5 separate regions of the Homo sapiens genome follow, and all the other regions are linked to region 1. The links are contacts of gene promoters, found by promoter capture Hi-C in blood cells and fetal thymus (Javierre and others, 2016). All regions are on one chromosome and are shown on one strand. The core of a region is centred on a gene start or on the middle of the fragment in contact, and the rest is flanking DNA. Distances in the headings are between cores, read along the strand shown.

What was found. The method cuts DNA at HindIII sites, captures the fragments that hold promoters and counts their contacts. A CHiCAGO score of 5 or more calls a contact.
Region 2: a fragment that was not itself captured here is called in contact with the fragment with the promoter of C19orf12 in region 1 in 1 of 17 cell types (non-activated CD4 T cells); the score reaches 5.9 in non-activated CD4 T cells.
Region 3: a contact is called between a fragment that was not itself captured here and the fragment with the promoter of C19orf12 in region 1, in 7 of 17 cell types (naive CD8 T cells, total CD4 T cells, activated CD4 T cells and 4 more). The highest score is 10.0, in naive CD8 T cells.
Region 4: a fragment that was not itself captured here is called in contact with the fragment with the promoter of C19orf12 in region 1 in 5 of 17 cell types (naive CD8 T cells, naive CD4 T cells, non-activated CD4 T cells and 2 more); the score reaches 7.8 in naive CD8 T cells.
Region 5: a contact is called between a fragment that was not itself captured here and the fragment with the promoter of C19orf12 in region 1, in 2 of 17 cell types (non-activated CD4 T cells and activated CD4 T cells). The highest score is 6.1, in non-activated CD4 T cells.

Annotation. Positions count from the first base shown.
Region 1 is chr19:29,714,011-29,717,768 of GRCh38, reverse strand. C19orf12 (chromosome 19 open reading frame 12) reads left to right here and starts at 2,508. Exons shown (of 3, transcript NM_031448.6): 1 at 2,508-2,644. RefSeq lists enhancers at 1,149-1,368, 1,914-2,013 and a silencer at 2,184-2,973. The HindIII fragment of the contact is 2,629 bases long and covers 1,222-3,758 here.
Region 2 is chr19:29,465,814-29,469,824 of GRCh38, reverse strand. All of the region lies in intron 1 of VSTM2B-DT (VSTM2B divergent transcript), which reads left to right. Among named protein-coding and RNA genes, the nearest start is that of VSTM2B-DT, 58 kb to the left of the region's middle. The HindIII fragment of the contact is 712 bases long and covers 1,745-2,456 here.
Region 3 is chr19:29,955,952-29,959,937 of GRCh38, reverse strand. The region is part of intron 1 of URI1 (URI1 prefoldin like chaperone); the gene reads right to left. It also overlaps the pseudogene RPL9P32. Among named protein-coding and RNA genes, the nearest start is that of URI1, 16 kb to the right of the region's middle. The HindIII fragment of the contact is 2,245 bases long and covers 307-2,551 here.
Region 4 is chr19:29,873,755-29,877,676 of GRCh38, reverse strand. No RefSeq gene overlaps it. Among named protein-coding and RNA genes, the nearest start is that of CCNE1, 64 kb to the right of the region's middle. The HindIII fragment of the contact is 7,711 bases long and covers 1-3,922 here.
Region 5 is chr19:29,910,359-29,914,097 of GRCh38, reverse strand. No RefSeq gene overlaps it. Among named protein-coding and RNA genes, the nearest start is that of URI1, 30 kb to the left of the region's middle. The HindIII fragment of the contact is 2,473 bases long and covers 157-2,629 here.

The sequences.
Region 1 (3,758 bases), core at 1,259-3,758:
GGATCATCCAGCCCTGGTCTAGGTGGGTGGCTTTAGCCTGAAGGAGCCATGGAAGTTTTAGGAGCTGGTGCACTCAGCTTTGGGAGAAAGTGAGGGCATAGAACGCTGGCCCCGTCTGAGTTTTGACTCTGGCTGGCCGTGTGAACACCACCTAGCACCCTAGGGCATTGTTGGGCCCATCAGCAAGAGAATGTTTTGTCAAGGTGGGGGTAGAACTGGATTTCCCACTACCTTGGGCCCATGAGGCTCATGGGACTTTGGAGAAGCCGCTCATTTTCACATTCTGTAATGTAAACAAGAATAATCTAGATTCATATATATTACCTCCTTTTATGTTGAGAACAACCCTATAGGATAAGTACTACTCTTGTTGCCATTTCCCAGATGAGGAAACTGAGGCACGGAGACGTGGAAGAACTTTCCCTAGGTCACTGTAAGCAGCATAAAGCATCGCTGTGTGCTGGGCCAGTGCCATTTCCGCGCCACCACCGAGACCCCACGGCACGCCTTGCTCACTGTGCAGGAGGCCGCAGTTGCCTTTAGGAGCATGAGGCACTGTGTGCTCCATCTCTGGGGTTCAGAGTGTGCGGTCATGTTATGCCTGCATTCGTATCAGAATGAGGCCCAGGAGGCTGATGGGTTGCAGATTTGCATGCAATGGCGCGATCTCGGCTCACTGCAACCTCCATCTGCCGGGTCCAAGCGGTTCTCCTGCCTCAACCTCCCGAGTAGCTGGGACTACAGGCTTGCACCAACCATGTCTGGCTCATTTTTCCATGTTTAGTGGAGATGGGGTTTCACCATGTTGCCCAGGCTGGTCTCAAAGTCCTGGCCTCAGGTGATCTGCCCGCCTCGGCCTCCCAAAGTGCTGGGATTACAGGTGTGAGCCACCGCGCTGGGCTGCATGAACCTCTTACATGCTTGCCTTCTCTGGAGGGCCTGGACTTTGAAGCTTCTTTCACTCCCAGCATCTTTCCCTACACAGGCCCTCTTCCCCACTATCTCTGGGGGAGGAGTCTGCAGGCCAGTTCTGCAATGTGCCGCCAGAGGGAGCTGCCCGCAGAGAAACGGGAGCGCCACACTCAGGCCCCAGGAAGGCAGCAAGCTGAGTTCCCCTGGCCTCAGTTCACTTTCCCTCTTGAAAGTCACCCAAACTCAAGCAAAAGCTCCGATTCAGGAATAAATGGGGTTGTTTTATCCCAGCCAAGGCCTGGGGAAGCTTGGTATTAAGAGCGTTTGTTCCATTCTTTTAAAAATGGAAAAGGGTCCGTCCTCTGGGTGCCCATGGCACCCTGGAAAGCAGGCAGAGTGCTGGTCACAGGCGGAGACTTTGAGATACCGAGACCGAGGCTGGAGTTTGGGCCCTGAAACTTTCTAACCAGGATGGCCTTGGGCAGAGCAGCCTGTGTTTAGAGCTTCCCATCTGTAATATAGCAGTGACAACCATGCCTGCTTTGCAGGGTTCCTGTTAGGATTAATTCTCTATAGAGCCCCCCAGAAGCCACTTTTGGATTTGAGATGGTTCAAGGCCAGACCTTGCATGACAAGAGTAGGGACAGCTTTCCACAGGCCTCAATAAAGTAGTATTCCCAGGCAGTTCTGCAACCCCAGCCTCATGCCCTTTGCACCTTCCTAAGAGGCTGCCTTGCCTCAGCTTTGGTCCCCATCCAAGACTCCTAAGAGCAAAGCCAGTTCTTTTCCTTTTTTTTCTTTCTTTAAGAGACGGTCTCACTCTGTCACCCAGGTTGAAGTGCAGTGGTGGGATCATAGTTCACTGCAGCCTCGAACTCCTGGGCTCAAGCAATCCTCCCGCTTCAGCCTCCCAAAATGCTGTAGGTCACAGGTATGACTCACCCACCCGGCCTAATTTTTATTATTATTTGTAGAGATGGGATGTCACTGTGTTGCCCACGCTCGAACTGCTGGGCTCAAGCAATCCTCCCTCCTCAGCCTCACTGGCAGCTGGGATTACGAGTCCCACCCAACCTGCTTCTCCTTTTGCAACCCCCAGACCCAGAGGCTCCAGAGCAGGCTCTGGAACAGAGGAAATCTGGCTCCGGCCCACACATTCACCAAATACTGACGCAGCACCCTTGACCTCCAGATGCCCCTGTGCTCTCTTCTGTGCCCAGGCTGCGGGGAGAGAGGGGTCCTCCAGGCCAAAGGGAGGGAGGTCTCCGGGAGGTCCCCGCGGTCCTGGAGGCAGGTGCGCGGGGCCCGGATGTGATCATGCGTGCGCGTGGGAGAAAGGCAGGGCTGGGCCTGCGGGAGCGCGGCCTTGCGGTTCCCAGGACTCTTCTCCGGGCGCCTCGTCTCCTTACGCCACCCGCAACCCAAGCCAGGGCCCCGGTGACAGCGGCGGGGTGGGCCAGGACCGGGGAGGGGGTGCCCAGCAGCGACCCCCGGCTCCCCCTAAGGCCGGGCGCAGCTCGGAGCCAGGAGCTGGCCCGGCGCGTGGCTTCCCGGAAGGCCCGGCGCAGCCGGAAGGTGGGACGGAGGGCGGGGCCAGCGCCGGGGCCGCCACCAAGGCCTGCGCGACCCTCCGCGGGGCTGGGGAGCTGGGCGGGGAGCCCGGGGCCTGCCAGGCCCGGGCTGCAGCCGCGTCTGATCGCCGAGCGCGCCGCGTAGACCTCCGCTCCCCCAGGTAAAGGAGCGCCCGGAGCCGGGGCGGGGCGCCTCCCAGGCCGCGCCCCGCGAGAGGAGGGGGCACCCCAAGAGCAGGCCTGGAGACCCGGGAGTGCCTTGGGGAGAGGGTCCCCGCCCTGCCGGGAGCCCGGCCCTCCCGGTGCCGGGGTGGACACTGTTAGTGTAGTCATTGTCCCTATGGAGAAACTGAGGCATGGAGAGGCTGAAGTCACACAAGTAAGCAGCAGAGCTGGGACTAGAGTCCCGGGCCCTGGCTCGCTGTCACCCAGGAGTGGCGTAGGCATGGGTGTGGTGGGTGGGGGTGGGGTGCGGGTGGTGGATGTGGTGGGAGTGGGTGAGGTTGGGTGGGGTGGGGATGTGGGTTTGGCGGGGGTGGGGTGCGGAATGTGATGGGTAGGGGTGGGGTAGAGTGGGGGTGGCTGGTGGGGCAGGGGCGGGGCTGGGGGTGGGGTGCTAGGTATTATAAATGTGAAGCGGATCCTGACAGGACACCTGTGGGGCAGCGGAGCTGGGCTGAGCCATATGGGAAGAAAATCTGGGCGCTAGTTTAGATTTGGTCAGGAAGGGTCGTTAATGCTTTAGGAGGTGAGATTAGTTTTGGGGATGGCAGGTAGTTTGTTGAGCTTTTGTTTAGACAGTCTTGCTCTGTTGTCCAGGCTGGAGTGCAATGGCGCGATCTCGGCTCACTGCAACCTCCACCTCCCTCGTTCAAGCAATTCCCCTGCCTCAGCCTCCCTAGTAGCTGGGATTACAGGCGACACCACCAAGCCTGGCTAATTTTTTTGTATTTTTAGTAGAGACGGAGTTTCACCATATCGGCCAGGCTAATCTCAAACTCCTGACCTTGCGATCCACCTGCCTCAGCCTTCTGCAATGCTGGGATTACAGACGTGAGCCACCCCGACCAATTTTTGTATTTTTTAGTAGAGACGGGGTTTCACCATCTTGGAATAGCACCTGTAGTTCCAGCTACTCGGGAGGCCGAGGCGGAAGAATTGCTTGAGGCCAGTTCCCGACCAGCCTAGGCAACACAGGGAGACTGCGTTTCTGGAAAAAACAACAACAACACCAGCAACAACAAAAAGCAGGAAGGAAGGGGAGAGGGAAAGAGA
Region 2 (4,011 bases), core at 851-3,350, 250 kb after region 1:
GATCTATATGTCTATCTTGCCACGAGTATCACACTCTCTTGGTTACTGTAGCTTTATGATAAGCATTAAAATCAGGTAGTGGGAGTCCTCCAACTTTACTTTTATTTTTCAAAATTTTTTTGGTTACTCTATTTCCTTTGCCTTTCCCAATAAATTTTAGACACACCCTGTCAGTATCTGCAACAATTTCTGCTAAGATTTTGATTGAGATTGCATTGAATTTGTAGACCATTTTAGGGAGAATTGAGAGCAATACTGAATTTCCAACCTCTGGACATACATTTGTCACTCCATTTATTTAGAAAAGAAAAGAATGTTTTCTTTTATGAGTGTTTCATAGTTTTCAGCCTACAGGTCTTGCATATATTTTGTTAGATTTATATCTATGTGTTTCCTGTTTCAGTAAATGGTAAAACATATTTTAAATGTTTTTCATTGCTAGTATATAGAAATACAATTGATTTGTTGTTTATTGATCTTGTATTTAATGTATTTAATTTAACATCATGTTATCTGAAAATAAAGGGATATTTATTTCTTCTTTTGCAATCTGTATGCTTTTTATTTCCCTTTCTTGCCTTGTCAAACTAGCTGGGACTTCCAGTATGATGCTGCATAAGAGAGATGAAGGTAGATATCTTTGCCTTGTTTCTCATTTTAGGGGAGAAGCATTCCATCTTTCACTATTAAATTTGATGTTAGCTGTAGGTTTCTTTTGTGGATGGCCCTAATCAGGTTTAGAAAGTTCTCTTAAATTCCTAGGTTGCTGAGTATTAAAAAAAGTCATGGTGGTAAACTTTTGTTAAGTGCTTTTTCTGCATCTATTAAGATAATCACATGGTTTTTCTTCTTTAGTCTGCTAATACGATACATTGATTGCAAGGTTAAACTAACCTTGCATCCTCAGAGTAAACCTCATGTGATCGTGGTGTATTATCTTTATAATATTATTAGAATTTGTTAATATTTTGGTGATAATTTTGCATCTACACTCATGAGAAATATTGATCTGTAGTTTTTAACTTCTAAAAATCCTTGTAATGTCTTCGTTGGATTTTGAAATCAAGGTAATACATCTCTTACAAAATGAGTTGGGAAGTATTCATTCCTTTTCTATATTCTGAAATAAATTGAATAGAGTTGTTACTGTTTCTTCCTTAAGTATTTGTATAGCAGATATGTGGGTCTTTAGAAAATCCAAATAGATAATCTCTGTCTTTTACTTGATGTTTAAGTCATTTACGTTTAACACAATAATTGATATGTTTGGATTTAGGTCTACGTTTTATTGTTGTTTGTTGTCCTCTCTACTTTTGTTTTTCTTTTCTTTTCTGCCTTCTTTTTTTTTCTTAAATTTCTTTTAAATTAATCTACTGGCACTTTTCTTAGTGGTTGCTCTGGAATTGTTAACTTTTCAAAACCCCCAGGTAGTTGCTTTTTGTATTTTGTCTAGAATTTTTAGTTGTAATGGGTGGGAGAGATATGTCGTACTAGGCGTAGTCAATGTTGGCTGCTTACATATTGCCTTTTGAAAAATGCAGTTTTGCTGTTCTTCATCTGTTTTTCTAGAGATCTATCTACTTCGTTCTTTTAAAATGAGTGATTTCTGGTTGTATTGAACATTTCCTTTGGTGGTGGTACTTGTTTTCCTCCTCTGTAAAATTCTGTAGTAGCCTCCCTGGATGCCCTTACTAAATGCCTGTGCATTCTATTTACCAGCTCAGTAAGCTCATCTCCCAAAGCTTCCGTGTATTTTGCTCTTAAAAATTTGCACTTGCAATCTTCAAAGGACTGCTGTTGGGCACTGGAGCCACCTGCTGGTATGGAGAGCTAAAGGTGCCTGAGGCTTACATGCTTCCCACCTCAGACATCCTGTAGCCAGTAACTGGCTAGATACAGTATATCTCAACTCTTTTGCCGTAAGACAGAACAAATCTTCTCTGTATTTACTGTGTTTTCCCACTTCCTTACTTGTTTCTTCTGGGAGTACTTCCTTAATAAACTACTTACATTCTAGTCCTTAACTACGATCATTTTCTTCCTTTTCCTTTTTTGAGTTTAATCTTCTTCTTGAGTTGTATAACATTTATTTTCACTCTTTTTATGTAAATGAATTTATCAAGAACAGTATTGAATTTATTCCACAACTTATGTTTTGTAGAACCCTGTTTTCCTTTAGCCCCTGATATTTTAATGTTTCGGTAATTTGCACTTTTAACACACAAGTAATTTAGGAGTGTAATTTTAAAATATTCTATATTTTTGTCTTTTAATTGTCAATTTCTGAGTTAATTGCATTGGGGTCTGAGAATAATATTTGTTGATATTTGATTTTCTGAAATTTGTTGAGACTTTTGTTGCAAGATTTGTTATTTGTAAGTATTCCTTATCTTCTTGAAAATAATGCACACTTTGTATTTGTTGACGGATTCTTTGTATATCTATTAGACCAAGCTTGCTACGATGTTGTACAAGTTTTCTATGTTATAAGTAATTTTTGTCTGCTGGAGCAATTTCCAATACAGTGAGCCAGAATCTCCCACTCTGATTATAGATTTATCAGTTTCTTCTTAAAATTCTGTCAGTTTTGCTTTACACATTTTTGAGGCTATGTTGCTGTGAGGTACATAAAATTCATGACTGTTATATCTCCTTGGTGAGTCCTTTCCTTTTATAATTACATGGAGTTCTTTATCTCCATAAATGCTTTTTGCCTTAAGTTAGATTTTATCTGCTACTAATATTGCTATTCTGCTTTGTTGTTGTTGTGCCAGCGATATTCTTTCCATTCCTCTATTTTTGACCTTCCTGGGTCATTTATTTTCGTGTGTCTCTTATAAGCAAAATATCACTAGATTAAGAAAAATCCAATTTGTTAGACTCTGTCCTTTAATTTATAACTTAAACCTGTTTATATTTATTACAAGTGCTGACATGATCTATTTGAACTTATTTTTACTGCTTATTTTATGTTTTCTTTTTTTGTTTGTTTTCAACAGGGTCTGATATATGTTTTCTTTACCATTTTATTTTCTTCTCTTCAACTCTTTTCCTCATTTACATTTAATTACTAAAGCTTTCATCACTTTCCTCTCCTGATTTAGAAATTACAGATTTTACTTCTATTTTTTCATGATTATCCATCCTTATTTTTCCTAACTATATTTTTTGAAGTTTAAGTTGCATTATGAAAAACCAAACCAAACAAAAAAAACCCATCAGTATTCTTACTACCAGAAATTAATCACTATAATTAATATCTTGGCATAATTGCCTTAAGGAAATCATTCTATTGCTTTTATAAAAATGAATCATGCATATCATAAAGACGTTAAATGAGGCAAAAATGTACAGTGAAGAAAATCTTTTAAAAAACCCTAAATCTCACTAACTTAGGCAAACATAATTCCAGACACCTATGTATGCTGATAGAAAGTAACATGGATACCTGGACAAATACTTATCTTTATAAAAAATGACCATCTCTAGATGTTATTTCAAAATATAAAGTATTTAATTTTACTTAATAGAAGAAAATGTAAGTGAAGTGAAACTGAGGGAACTGTGAACTTCAAATACATATTTTTTTATGTAAAATTTATTTCCCAGAAAATCCCTTAAAAACAAAAAAGAGAGATTGTGAAACACATCAGGAGTTTATAGTCATTTTTTTAAAAAAAAATTCATTTCAAGTTTCGAGTTTTCTCAAAAGTTTCAAATTTAGTCTATTGGCTCCTTTCTTTGAAAGATGAGATGTTGATTTACTCACCTCCCCGTCATTTTACCATCCTATCTCCCAAGAGTTGTTAGCTTTTTTACTTTTACCTTGTCCAGCTTAATTAATTTCACACTTTGTTCTGTCATCATAATTCCCTGAGTTACTTAATGTTTATCTATATTTAAGTGAACTCTCTGCTCATTCCTCCTTCTTCTACCCCAATGTCTCAATTCCTATGTTTATTTTTACGTATTTCTAATCTGTTAATTGCTTGGATTTAATTGTGAATAGTT
Region 3 (3,986 bases), core at 180-2,679, 240 kb before region 1:
AAGGTTAATATTAGTAACCTCAACCATCATCTCTAAGGGCTAGAAAAATTACAGGCAAAGGAAAATCTTAAACAGGAAAAAAGAGAGAAGAAATCAGTAAAGTAGAAAGCAGACTTAGAAAAGAGGAAAAAAATCAAAGGCAAAAATATAAAATATAAAATTGATAAACCCTTAAGAAGAGAAATCAAGGGAGGAAAAAACCCACAAATTAAAAATTACAGTAATTAAAAAGAGGACATCACCACCAAATCTACTGATAATAAAAAGATAACAGGATATTATGATAACTCGGAGGGACAACAAGCTTGAAAACTTAGAAAGGACAATTCCTTGAAAATCACATTTTCTAAAATGATATAACTAGAAACAGAAAATCTGGATAGTCTTTGAACTTTCAAAGAAATTGAGGTCGTATCTTAAAATCTCCATACAAAATGTCCAAGAAAAATATTGGGCCCAGACGGCTTTGTTGATGAACTCTTCCAAACATTTAAGTTAGAAACAGTACGAGCCAGGCACAGTGGCTGACTAGCCTGTAGTCCATCATTTTGGGAAGCCAAGGCAGATGGATAGCTTGATCCCAGAAGTTCAAGACCAGCCTGGGCAACATAGTGAGACTCTGTCTCTACAAAAAATACAGAAAAATTAGCCAGGCATGGTGGCGCATTCCTATAGCCCCAGCTACTCGGGGAGACTGAGGCGAGAGGATCACCTGAGCCTGGGAGTTCCAGGATGCAATGAGCCAGGATTGGCCACTGCACTCCAGCCTGGATGAGAGCGAGATTCTGTTTCAAAAAAACAAAAACAAAACACACACACAAAAACCAATAACAACAGTGTATAAACTTTTATAGGATATACAAAAATGGGAGTTGTTTCATGAGACCAGCCTAATTCTGAAGCCAAATCCTTACGTCGACATTACAAGAAAAGAAAATCATAGGTTTAAGGTAGTGTTAATGTTTTTTGTTGTTTTTTTTTTGAGACGGAGTCTCACTTGCCCAGGCTGGAGTGCAGTGGCGTGATCTCAACTCACTGCAACCTCCACCTCCCGGGTTCAAGCAATTCTCATGCCTCAACCTTCCGAGTAGCTGGGATTACAGGCCCCCGCCACCACACCCAGCTTATTTTTGTATTTTTTGTAGAGATGGGGTTTCACCATGTTGGCCAGGCTGATCTCAAACCCCTGACCTCACGTGATCCGCCCACCTCAGCTTCCCAAAGTGCTGGGATTACAGGTGTGAGCCGCAGCACCCTGGTAGAGTTAATCAAAAAAAAAGAAAAAAGAAAAGAAAAGAAAGAATTACAGAATTTTGCCTCATGTAACAGAACAAAATACCTTAATAAAATATTATCAAATTTAATCTAGCAATATACAACAAGGTAAACACATCCTCTACAAATGGGTTTGCTGCAGGAATGCAATGGCATTTGAATATTTTTAAAGAATCAAAGTAATTTACCATATTGTTATCTCAAGAAACATAGAAAATACATTTGATAAAATTCAGCATCCATTAATGATAAAATTAGCAACAGGAGAAAATGTCCTTATTTTCATAACGAGTAGCTACAAAAAGCCAACTACGAACATCTGTATGGTGAAATACTTAAAACTGCCCTCCTGGTATGTAAAGCCCAATGTCCTAACTTTTATTTTACATTATATTAAAGGTTCTAGCCCATACAATAGGGCAAAAAACAAAACAAAACAAACAACCATAAAAAAAAACTTAAGAACTGGAATGAATAAAACTGTCAGTATTTACAAACAACATGCCTGTATGTAACTACACAGATACTATCAGAATGTACAGGCAAGTAATTAGAATTCAAATAAATTTAGGCCAGGCATGGTGGCTCACACTTGTTGTGGTCCCAGCACTTTGGGAAGCAGAGGCGGGTGGATCACTTGAGGCCTGGAGTTGGAGACTAGTCTGGCCAACACAGCAAACTCATCTCTATTTTTTAACAACAACAAAAAATTTTAGAACAAAGTCAATATGTAAAAATCAAGTATGTTACCAGCAAAAAAAAAAAAAAAAATGAATAGCAAGTAAATTACAAAAGGCAACAAAAAATAGTATCTAGAAATAAATCTAACACATGAAGATTTATATACTTTTAAAAGCTAATACTAAAAAGTTATAGAAGTAAATAAATTGATATACCATGTTCATAGATTTTAAAACTTAATATTGTAAACATCTTAATTCTCCTCAAACCGATCTTTAGATCCAGTGCACTCCAAGCAAAACCCCAGTAATGTTATTTTTTGAGTATTGGAAAGGTGATCCTAAAATATATACAAAAAAGCAAAGGGTCAGAATAGTAAAGACAATCTTGAAGAACAAAGTGCTAGAGGAATTTTACTACTAGATATCAAGACCTATTATAAAGCTAAAATAGTAAGAGTGTGATACTGGTGCAATTACAGGCAAATAATCCAATGGAACAGAATAGAGAAACAGAGCTACACACAAATAATCACATAATTTATGAAACAGACAACATACTCCATAAGGATTACTCTGGCTGCTAAAAGAAAGCTTAACCCCCTCCAGAATCCCTAGAATTTTTTGTTACAATATCTGGCATCCAGTTCAAAATTACAAGGTACAAGGCAATCTATAAAAACAAAAGCGGCTATAAAGAAACCAAGGGGAAGGAATAAAAGCAGACCTTCATTTGATTGACATATTGCATTTATAAAATATAATAGACTTTATGATTAATACATTCATGAAAACAGAAGAAAAGTTGCAGATGTCAACAGAAACTTGGAATCCATTTTAAAATTTCAAAACATAAATTGTATTTCTTTTACGGTTTTCCTGCTGATAAATCCAAAAGAATTATAAGCAGGAAAATGACAAAATGACATCATCCAATTTGCATTCTTAAAAAGACTACTCTGGGCCACTTTTTTTTGCTGCGTTTACTGTGAGAATGAAGACCATTCTCAGCAATCAGACTGTTGACATTCCAGAAAATGTCAACGTTACTCTGAAGGGACGCACAGTTATCATAAAGGGCCCCAGAGGAACCCTGCGGAAGGACTTCAATCACATCAACGTAGAACTCAGACTCCTTGGAAAGAAAAAAAAGAGGCTCCGGGTTGACAAATGGTCGGGTAACAGAAAGGAACTGGCTACCGTTCGGACTATTTGTAGTCATGTACAGAACATGATCAAGGGTGTTACACTGGGCTTCCATTACAAGATGAGGTCTGTGTATGCTCACTTCCCCCATCAACGTCGTTATCCAGAATGGGTCTCTTGTTGAAATCCGAAATTTCTTGGGTGAAAAATACATCCGCAGGGTTCAGATGAGACCAGGTGTTGCCTGTTCAGTACCTCAAGCCCAGAAAGATGAATTAATCCTTGAAGGAAATGACACTGAGCTTGTTTCAAATTCAGCAGCTTTGATTCAGCAACCCACAACAGTTAAAAACAAGGATATCAGGAAATTTTTGGATGGTATCTATGTCTCTGAAAAAGGAACTGTTCAGCAGGTTGATGAATCAGATCTAAGAGTTATCCAGCTACAGAAAGAAGATGCCAGATGACTCCTAAGACATACTTGTGATATTTCAATGATGCAATAAAAGACCTATTGATTTGGACCTTCTTAAAAAAAAAAAAAAAAAAAAGACTACTCTGGGCCAGGCGCCGTGGCTCATGCCTGTAAAATTTTGGGAGGCCGAAGACAGGTGGATCACCTGAGGTCAGGAGTTTGAGACCAGACTGACCAACATGGCGCTCATCTCTACTAAAAATACAAAAATTAGCTGGGTGTGGTGGCGGGCACCTGTAATCCCAGCAACATGGGAGGCTGAGGCAGGAGAATCGCTTGAACCCAGGATGTGGAGGTTGCAATGAGCCAAGACCACTCCATTGCACTCCAGCCTGGGCAACAAGAGCGAAACTCCATCTCAAAAAATAAAAAAAAAAAAAGACTACTCTGGGAAATAGACAGAAGAGGAA
Region 4 (3,922 bases), core at 779-3,278, 160 kb before region 1:
CTCCACTAAAAGTACAAAAATGAGCCAGGCATGGTGGTGCGAAATCTAATCCCAGCTACTTGAGAGGCTGAGGCACAAGAATCACTTGAACCCGGGAGGCAGAGGTTGCAGTGACCTGAGATCATGCCACTGCACTTCAGCCTGGGTGGCAGAGCAAGACTCTGCCTAAAAACAAAAAACAAAACAACAACAAAAATTAAAAGGAAAAAAAAAACAATTAGTGGGTGTGGTGGTGCATGCCTATAATCCTAGCTATTTAGGAGGCTGAGGTAGGAGGATCTTTTGAGTCCAGAAGTTAGAGGCTGCAGTGAGCCATGATAGTGCCACTGTACTCCAACCTGGGTGACAGAGCAAGGCTGTCTCAAAAAAAAAAAAAAAAAGCTGGGCCCAGTGGCTCACACCTGTAATCCCAGCACTTTGGGAGACCAAGGTGGCTGCATCACTTGAGGTCAGGAGTTTGAGACTACCCTGGCCAATGTGGTGAAACCACATCTCTACTAAAAAAAAAAAAAAAAAAAAATTAGCCAGGGATGGTGCTCGTGGCCCATGCCTGTAGTCCCTACTACTCCAGAGCCTGAGGTAGTAGGATCGGTTGCTTGAATCTGGGAGGTAGAGGTTGCAGTGAAATCACACCACTGTACTCCAGCCTGGGTGACAGAGCAAGACTCCATCTCAAAAAAAAAAAAAAAAAAAAAGTCTAGCCCGGAGCCCAAGCAGGGTGGCCCTGGATGCATTCTGTCCGATGACTGAATGAATGGATCATGGGTCCCCACCCATGTCAGGACTGTATGCTCCGGACACAGGCACCCCAAATCATTTCTGACGCTGGGTGCACAGTTGGAGCTCTCAATAAGGGCTTGATGCTGGCCAGAGGGGCTGAAGAGAGGAGGGGACTAACTCCCCCTCCCTAATTCTAGGCCAAGGCAGGAGAAGGATGAAAAGACTCCGAGGAGGAAGTCCTTGAAGTGATGAAATGAAAGTAATCCTGATTGGCTTCACTTAGAGTAGTTCAGAGGAGGAAGAGCAGAGAATCAAATGAAGCCCGTCCCCAGGTCCCCAGGGCTCAGCTGCTCTCCTTCCTCTAGCAACACAACAACGGTGTAGAGTGCGTGGGGGCCCCACTGCCACTGGACCACTTGGGAGAGGTGAATGGTACTCACCTCGCCTCTTCTGCAGCAGAGAAGTGGGGAGGATATATCAAGAGGAAAACAGAGAGGAGAGTCAATGAGAGACGGAGGTGATGAAACATGAGAAAGAAAGAGAAATGGTACTTAGCACAGGAGACACAGAAGGAGGCTGGAGAGGTGGAGCGGGTTCAAAAAAGAGAGAGGAGCTGGTAGTCTCCCCTCTGCCCTGCACACCCCCTTCACCCTCCTCCACTGGCTCTGTGTACCCCTCCACAGACTCTATCTGTGGATGCCTCGCTCTGCCTTCTGGGCAGGTGGACCTGGGAGGCCCTAGCAGGAAACTGGGGGGCAGAGGAGAGCACCTAGAGTGGGGGTTCCCTGAGCTCCTCCTCCTTCTTCGGTCACCACTGCTATCAGGGAGTGCTGCCTACACAGCCACCTTGCCCTGCGTCAGAGAACGCCTCCTCACGTAGCCCTGCGGCCCCAGGGATGGGAACAGCCCACTGCTACTAGACCCAGGGTACCACTCCTCCTCCTGAGGTCCCCCATGCAAACAGTTATTTATAAAACTCCGCCTGGATGGCCAGATTGAGCAATCCACCCAATGGGTCCTGGATGATACAGGGGCATTTGGGGCTTTTAATCCCCAGGAACGGAAGAACCCCTCTATGGAGGAGAGAGGCCCGTGCCTCTGATTTGAGAGGGTGTCCTCACTTCAGAGGTCACGGAGCATCCCCTGGAGTGGAGCACGGCCTCTTTTGGAAGGCAGCAGCCAGCACAGACTTCTTAGAAGGCCCTGCCCTCTGCTGAGTACCTATGAATGGCTGTTTGTTTTCTGTTGTTGTTTTTTTATTTGTTTGTTTTTGTTTTGTTGTTGTTGTTTTTGAGATAGTCTCACTGTTTCACCCAGGCTGGAGTTTAGTGGTGCAATCTCGGCTCACTGCAACCTCTGCCCCCTGGGTTCAAGCAATTCCCCTGCCTCAGTCTCCTGAGTATCTGGGATTACAGGCGCCCACCACCACGCCCGGCTAATTATTGTATTTTTAGTAGAGATGGGGTTTCACCATGTTGCCCAGGCTGGTCTGGAACTCCTGACCTCAGGTAATCCACCCACCTCGGTCTCCCAAAGTGTTGGGATTTTAGGCATGAGCCACTGCGCCCAGCCGCGAATGGCTATTTGATGAGTGAGTCCCAGGCTCAGCTGCAGCTGTCTTCAGAGGACAACCCTTAAGATAAATAAATAAAGCCTCCCCTGACTGTGCATGCCCATGTCCAGACTCCCAGCTCTATTTTTAGAATGTAGGACAACTTTCTCCCGGAATAGACAAGACACGCTAATCCAGGAGGGAGGCCTGGAGAGATGAAGACGTCGAGTCCAGATATGAATTAGTCGTGAGTATATTATTTGAAGAAATGTTGAACAGCTAGGCAAATATTTGATACCTTTGAATTGGAGCTGGCGTTTTCACAGGCAGAGTGCTGGCAGCTGCTGAGACATCCCCCTTACTGGTGGCATACCTTGCTGTCACACCCGGTGCTGCAGGCCACCTCTGTGGTACACTGAGAAGTAATTAAAGTTGCATGCCTGCTGGAATCCTCCGCAGCCATGCACCAAGCCTGGGTCTCCGGGACAGTGCTTGGCATGTGAGTGGATCCAAATCGCCTTTTCTTTTTTAAAAGAAATATTTATTTTCCTTAAACATACCATCATCTTATTAAAAGAATGAAGTTTCTGCCTCAGTGGGGCTCCTATTTTTGGAAAGAAAACATGATCTGTGGTTTGGACTCTCTAGTCTGTGATCGTGCGGAGGGGGTTCCCAGGAAAGACACCCGCCTTCCCTTGGCTCAGGAAACAGGCCTTGCCTATAAGGCAGGAGGATATGGGGGGAGACCTCAAGGTTTGGGGGCAGCTGTGGGAGTCTCTGCACACTGGCAGAGAATTAACTAACCTCTTGGAGCTTAGAGGGAAAACCCCGGGGAACAATGATGTCGGGGGCACGGTCAGCAGAGTGGCCGAGCCATCTGTACACCAGGTACCTCATCCGGGAGTGGGGGCTGGCATTGGCATCCCCAGTTTACAGAGGGGGAAACAGAAAATCCGCGATATGGCCAACACCAGTGATGTCAGAGCCGAGCCAGGGCATGACGGAGCGAGTATGGGAAGCAGTTTGCAGACCACCCCATGGGGTTTACAACAGCAAAAGCTAATACTCTTCGAGCTCTTGCCTGGGCCTGGGGCTCTACCTGCCTCGCTCAGTCCCCTGTCCCCAGGCTCAGAGGATTCTGGCCCCCCCCCCGGTGACAGTCCCCTCCCCCTCCCCCCTCGCCCCGAGCCTACAGCCCGTTCTGCAGGGGTCATGCCTTGCTCTTGACGATCAGGGCGATCTGCAGGTGCTCCTGGTGGGAGCCTGGCCCGCCCTCCCCTTTTCTGCACCCCCTCCAGGACCCGCAGCCAGCCAGCTCTGAGGTTAATTCTGTGACAGTGTGCAAATACGGCTGCCGCCAAATCGCAGCCTCGTGCCCGCAGCCTCGCGCCTCAGGGGTAAGGCCTGATTTCTGAGCTAAGGGAACCTGGGAGCCTTGCGAAGCCTCCACAAGGCACGCACTTCCATGAACCCCATTTTAGAGATGAGAAAACCGAGTTAGAGAGGGACGCACGTCACCCCCTGGGCACGGCACCGGCCACCGCGCGCTGGCTCCCAGGAGACGTGGGGCTCGGTTTCTGCTGGGAGAAGCCGAGCAAAGCCAGAGGCTGTTGGGGACTTCCCGGGAGAGCGGCGCGGGCGCGGGGGCGC
Region 5 (3,739 bases), core at 144-2,643, 200 kb before region 1:
GCCGAGACCTTGCTATTGCACTCCAGCTTGGGCGACAAGAGTGAAACTCCATCTCAAAAAAGAAAGAACGAAAGAAAGAAAGAAATTGAGAAGCTGTCAAGCTCTTGGTGGCAGATAACAAGTTTTCCCAAAATCCTAATGCTCAACTTGAAAGCTTGAATTTTATCATTGGCAAAACATACTGCCAGTTGTTTCCCTTGAAGTGACAGGCTCATTTTGTTCATTTTTGAGAAAATGTCTGCCAAATACCAGAGTCTGAATATCTGTACTTTGATGTGTCAGAACTTTCTTCCAAGTAAAACAGTGTGCCATGATAAAAAGCAGCTAGTTCAGCTCGCAACTCAAGCAACTGCACCAGTGTCTCACCTTGAAAAGCCATTGTACCCAGTGTGTGGCGGAATCCTGTTCTGTGTTCACTCCGTCACAATCTTCAGAAGTGGACTCGAGAATTCAAATTTAATAACACTAATTCTTACTGCTTCATTAGGAACATTCTTAAGTGAAAGTGGATTGTTTTAAACTGTGAGTAGACTCACACTTGTAATCCCAGCACTTAGGGAGGCTGAGGTGAGCAGATCACCTGAGGTCGGGAGTTCGAGACCAGCCTGGGTAACATGTCGAAACCCTGTCTCTAATAAAAATACAAATATTAGCCAGGCATGGTGGCCCATGCCTGTAGTCCCAGCTACTAGGGAAGCTGAGGCAGGAGAATCGCTTGAACCCGGGAGGTGGGGGTTGCAGTGAGCCGAGATTGCACCACTGTACTCCAGCCTGGGCCACAGAGCAAGACTCTGTCATAAATAAATAAATAAAATAAAATAAGTTAGCCGGTTGTGGTGGCGCACACTTGTATTCCCAGCTACTCGGGAGGCTGAGGTGGGAGGATTGCTTGAGCCTGAGCAATTGGGGCTGTGGTGAGCCATGATTGTGCTGCTGCACTCCAGCCTGGGTGACAGAGGGAGATTCTATCTCAAAACATAAAAATCAATAAAAAGTAAAAATAAATAAATAAACTGTGAGTGGTGAAGAATACAATGAGTTCTAGTACAGTCAGTGCCACTGACAAATTAACGTCAAGTACAAGCAGTATTACTCGCTGTTGGTTTTATACCATCTGTGCAAATACCAAAATAAAAGGTAAATGACATCTTAGTATTATCGTAAATAAATATAAATTGTAAAATGGTTTTTACCTTGTAGACCCCTTGAAAGAATCTCTGGGATCCCAGAGGTCTACAGATTCAACTTTTTTTTTTCTTTTTTTGAGACAGAGTCTCACTCTGTCACCCAGGCTGAAGTGCGATCTCGGCTCACTGCAACCTCCACCTCCCACGTTCAAGTGATTCTCGTGCCTCAGTGTCCCAAGTAGCTGGGGCTACAGGCATGTGCCACCACGCCTAGCTAATTTTTGTATTTTTAGTAGAGATCAGGTTTCACCTTGTTGGCCAGGCTGGTCTCGAACTCCTGACTGCAAGTGATCCACCCACTTCTGCCTCCCAAAGTGCTGGGATTACAGGTGTAAGCCACCATGCCAGGCCCCAAATTAAACTTTGAGAACTTCGATAGAGCTTGGCAGAGTGCCTGGCATACAGTAGCAATCCAATAAATAATTAGTTCAATAAATCAATGAACTAATAATTTGTATTTATTTTACTTTTCAAAATAAAGATAGAAAGCTGGGCGTGAAGGTTCACACCTGTAATCCCAGTGCTTTGGGAGGCTGAGGTGGGAGGATCACTTCAGGCCAGGAGTTCAAGATCAGCCTGGGCAAAGTTGCAAGACCCCATCTCTCTACAAAAAAAATTAAAAATTAGCCTGGAGTGGTGATGCATGCCTGTAGTCAAGAATACTTGGAAGGCTGAGGCAGGAGGATCACTTAAGCCCAGTACTTGGAGGTTACGGTGAGCTATGATCTTGTCACTGCACTCCAGCCCGGACAAAGAGTGAGACTCTGTTTTTAAAAACAAATAAATAAATAAAGATAGATCTCCTCCTGTCTTTTTATGGGAAAGGAGGCTATTTCTCTAAGGAACAAGACAATTTTGATCCGACATCCTATTCCGAGCGGATTGCAGGTCAGTTCATGTCCTGGATGAACTGATTTGTCAGGGGACCTTTCCCCAGACCCTTCAGACCCTTTTTTTTCTTTTTTTTATGTTTTTTTTTGAGACAGAGTCTTGCTCTGTTGCCAGGCTGGAGTGCAGTGGCGCGATCTCAGCTCACTGCAACCTCTGCCTCTCGGGTTCAAGGGATTCTCCTGCCTCAGCCTCCTGAGTAGCTGGGATTACAGGTGAGTGCCACCATGCCCAGCTAATTTTTGTATTTTTAGTAGAGACAGGGTTTCACCATGTTGGTCAGGCTGGTCGCAAACTCCTGACTTCATGATCCACCCACATTGGCCTATGGAATTACAGGTGTGAGACACCATGCCGGTCCCCCAGACCCTTTTCTTGTTAAGGTATCTCATGACCTCCTCCAAACTAGAGAGGAAACATGATCCAGTTCTGATTACCATCATAATTTCTGCGACATGGAAGGTCAGAGAATAATAGCTAGGAATCAGCCTCTGCGGATCAGCCAAGCCAGGGGTTCCCAGCTCTGGCTGATCATCAGAACCACCTGGGAAGCTTTATTTCTTATAAAAAATTTCAAGCAAGTAAAAGGGTAGAACAGCATAGTGAGCCCCCATGTATCCATCATCTGGACTCAGCAATGGTCACTTCATGGCCAATTTCATTTCTTCTGTACCTCCCCCTACTGCCTCCCCTAGCTATTTTGAAGCAAATCCCCTAAATTCTATCATTCCACCCATCAATATTCAGCAGGTATCTCCAAAACATAAGTATGTAAAAATACAACCATTATCACATCTAAGGCAAAATAGTGATAATAATTCCTCCTTTGGGAGGCCAAGGCAGGAGGATCACTTGAGGCCAGGAGTTTGAGACCAGCCTGGGCAACTTAGCAAGACCCTGTCTGAAAAAAAAAGGTGGGGGAGAGAGAGAGAGAGAGACAGAAAAGAGAAAGAAAGAAAGAAAAAGAAAGAGAGAAAGAAAGAAAGAAAGAAAGAAAGAAAGAAAGAAAGAAAGAAAGAAAGAGAAAGAGAAAAAGAAAAGAAAGAAAAGGAAGAAGGAAGGAAGGAAAAGAAAGGAAGGAAGGAAGGAGAGAAAAGCGGGGAGAGAGGGAGAGAGGCAGGAGAGGGAGAGAAGGAGGGAGGGAGGAAAGAAGGGAGAGAGGAAGGAAGGAAGGAAAGAGAAAGGGGAGAGAGAGGGAGAGATGCAGGAGAGGGAGAGAAGGAGAGAGGGAGGAAGGAAGGGAGGGAGGGAAGGAGGGAGGGTGGGAAGGACGGAGGGAGGGAAGGAGGGAGGGAGGGAGGAAGGCAAAGGAAAGAAAGAGAAAGAGAGAAAGAAAAGGAAGAAGGAAGGAAGGAAGGAAAAGAAAGGAAGGAAGGAAGGGGAGAAAAGGGGGGAGAGAGGGAGAGAGGCAGGAGAGGGAGAGAAGGAGGGAGGGAGGAAGGAAGGGAGGGAGGAAGGGAGGGAGGAAGGGAGGAAAGAGAAAGGGGAGAGAGAGGGAGAGATGCAGGAGAGGGAGGGAGGGAGGAAGGGAGGGAGGGAAGGAGGGAGGGAGGAAGGCGAAAGAAAGAAAGAAAGGAAAGAAAGGAAGGAAGGAAGGAAAAGAAAGGAAGGAAGGAGAGAAAAGGGGAAGAGAGGGAGAGAGGCAGGAGAGGGAGAGAAGGAGG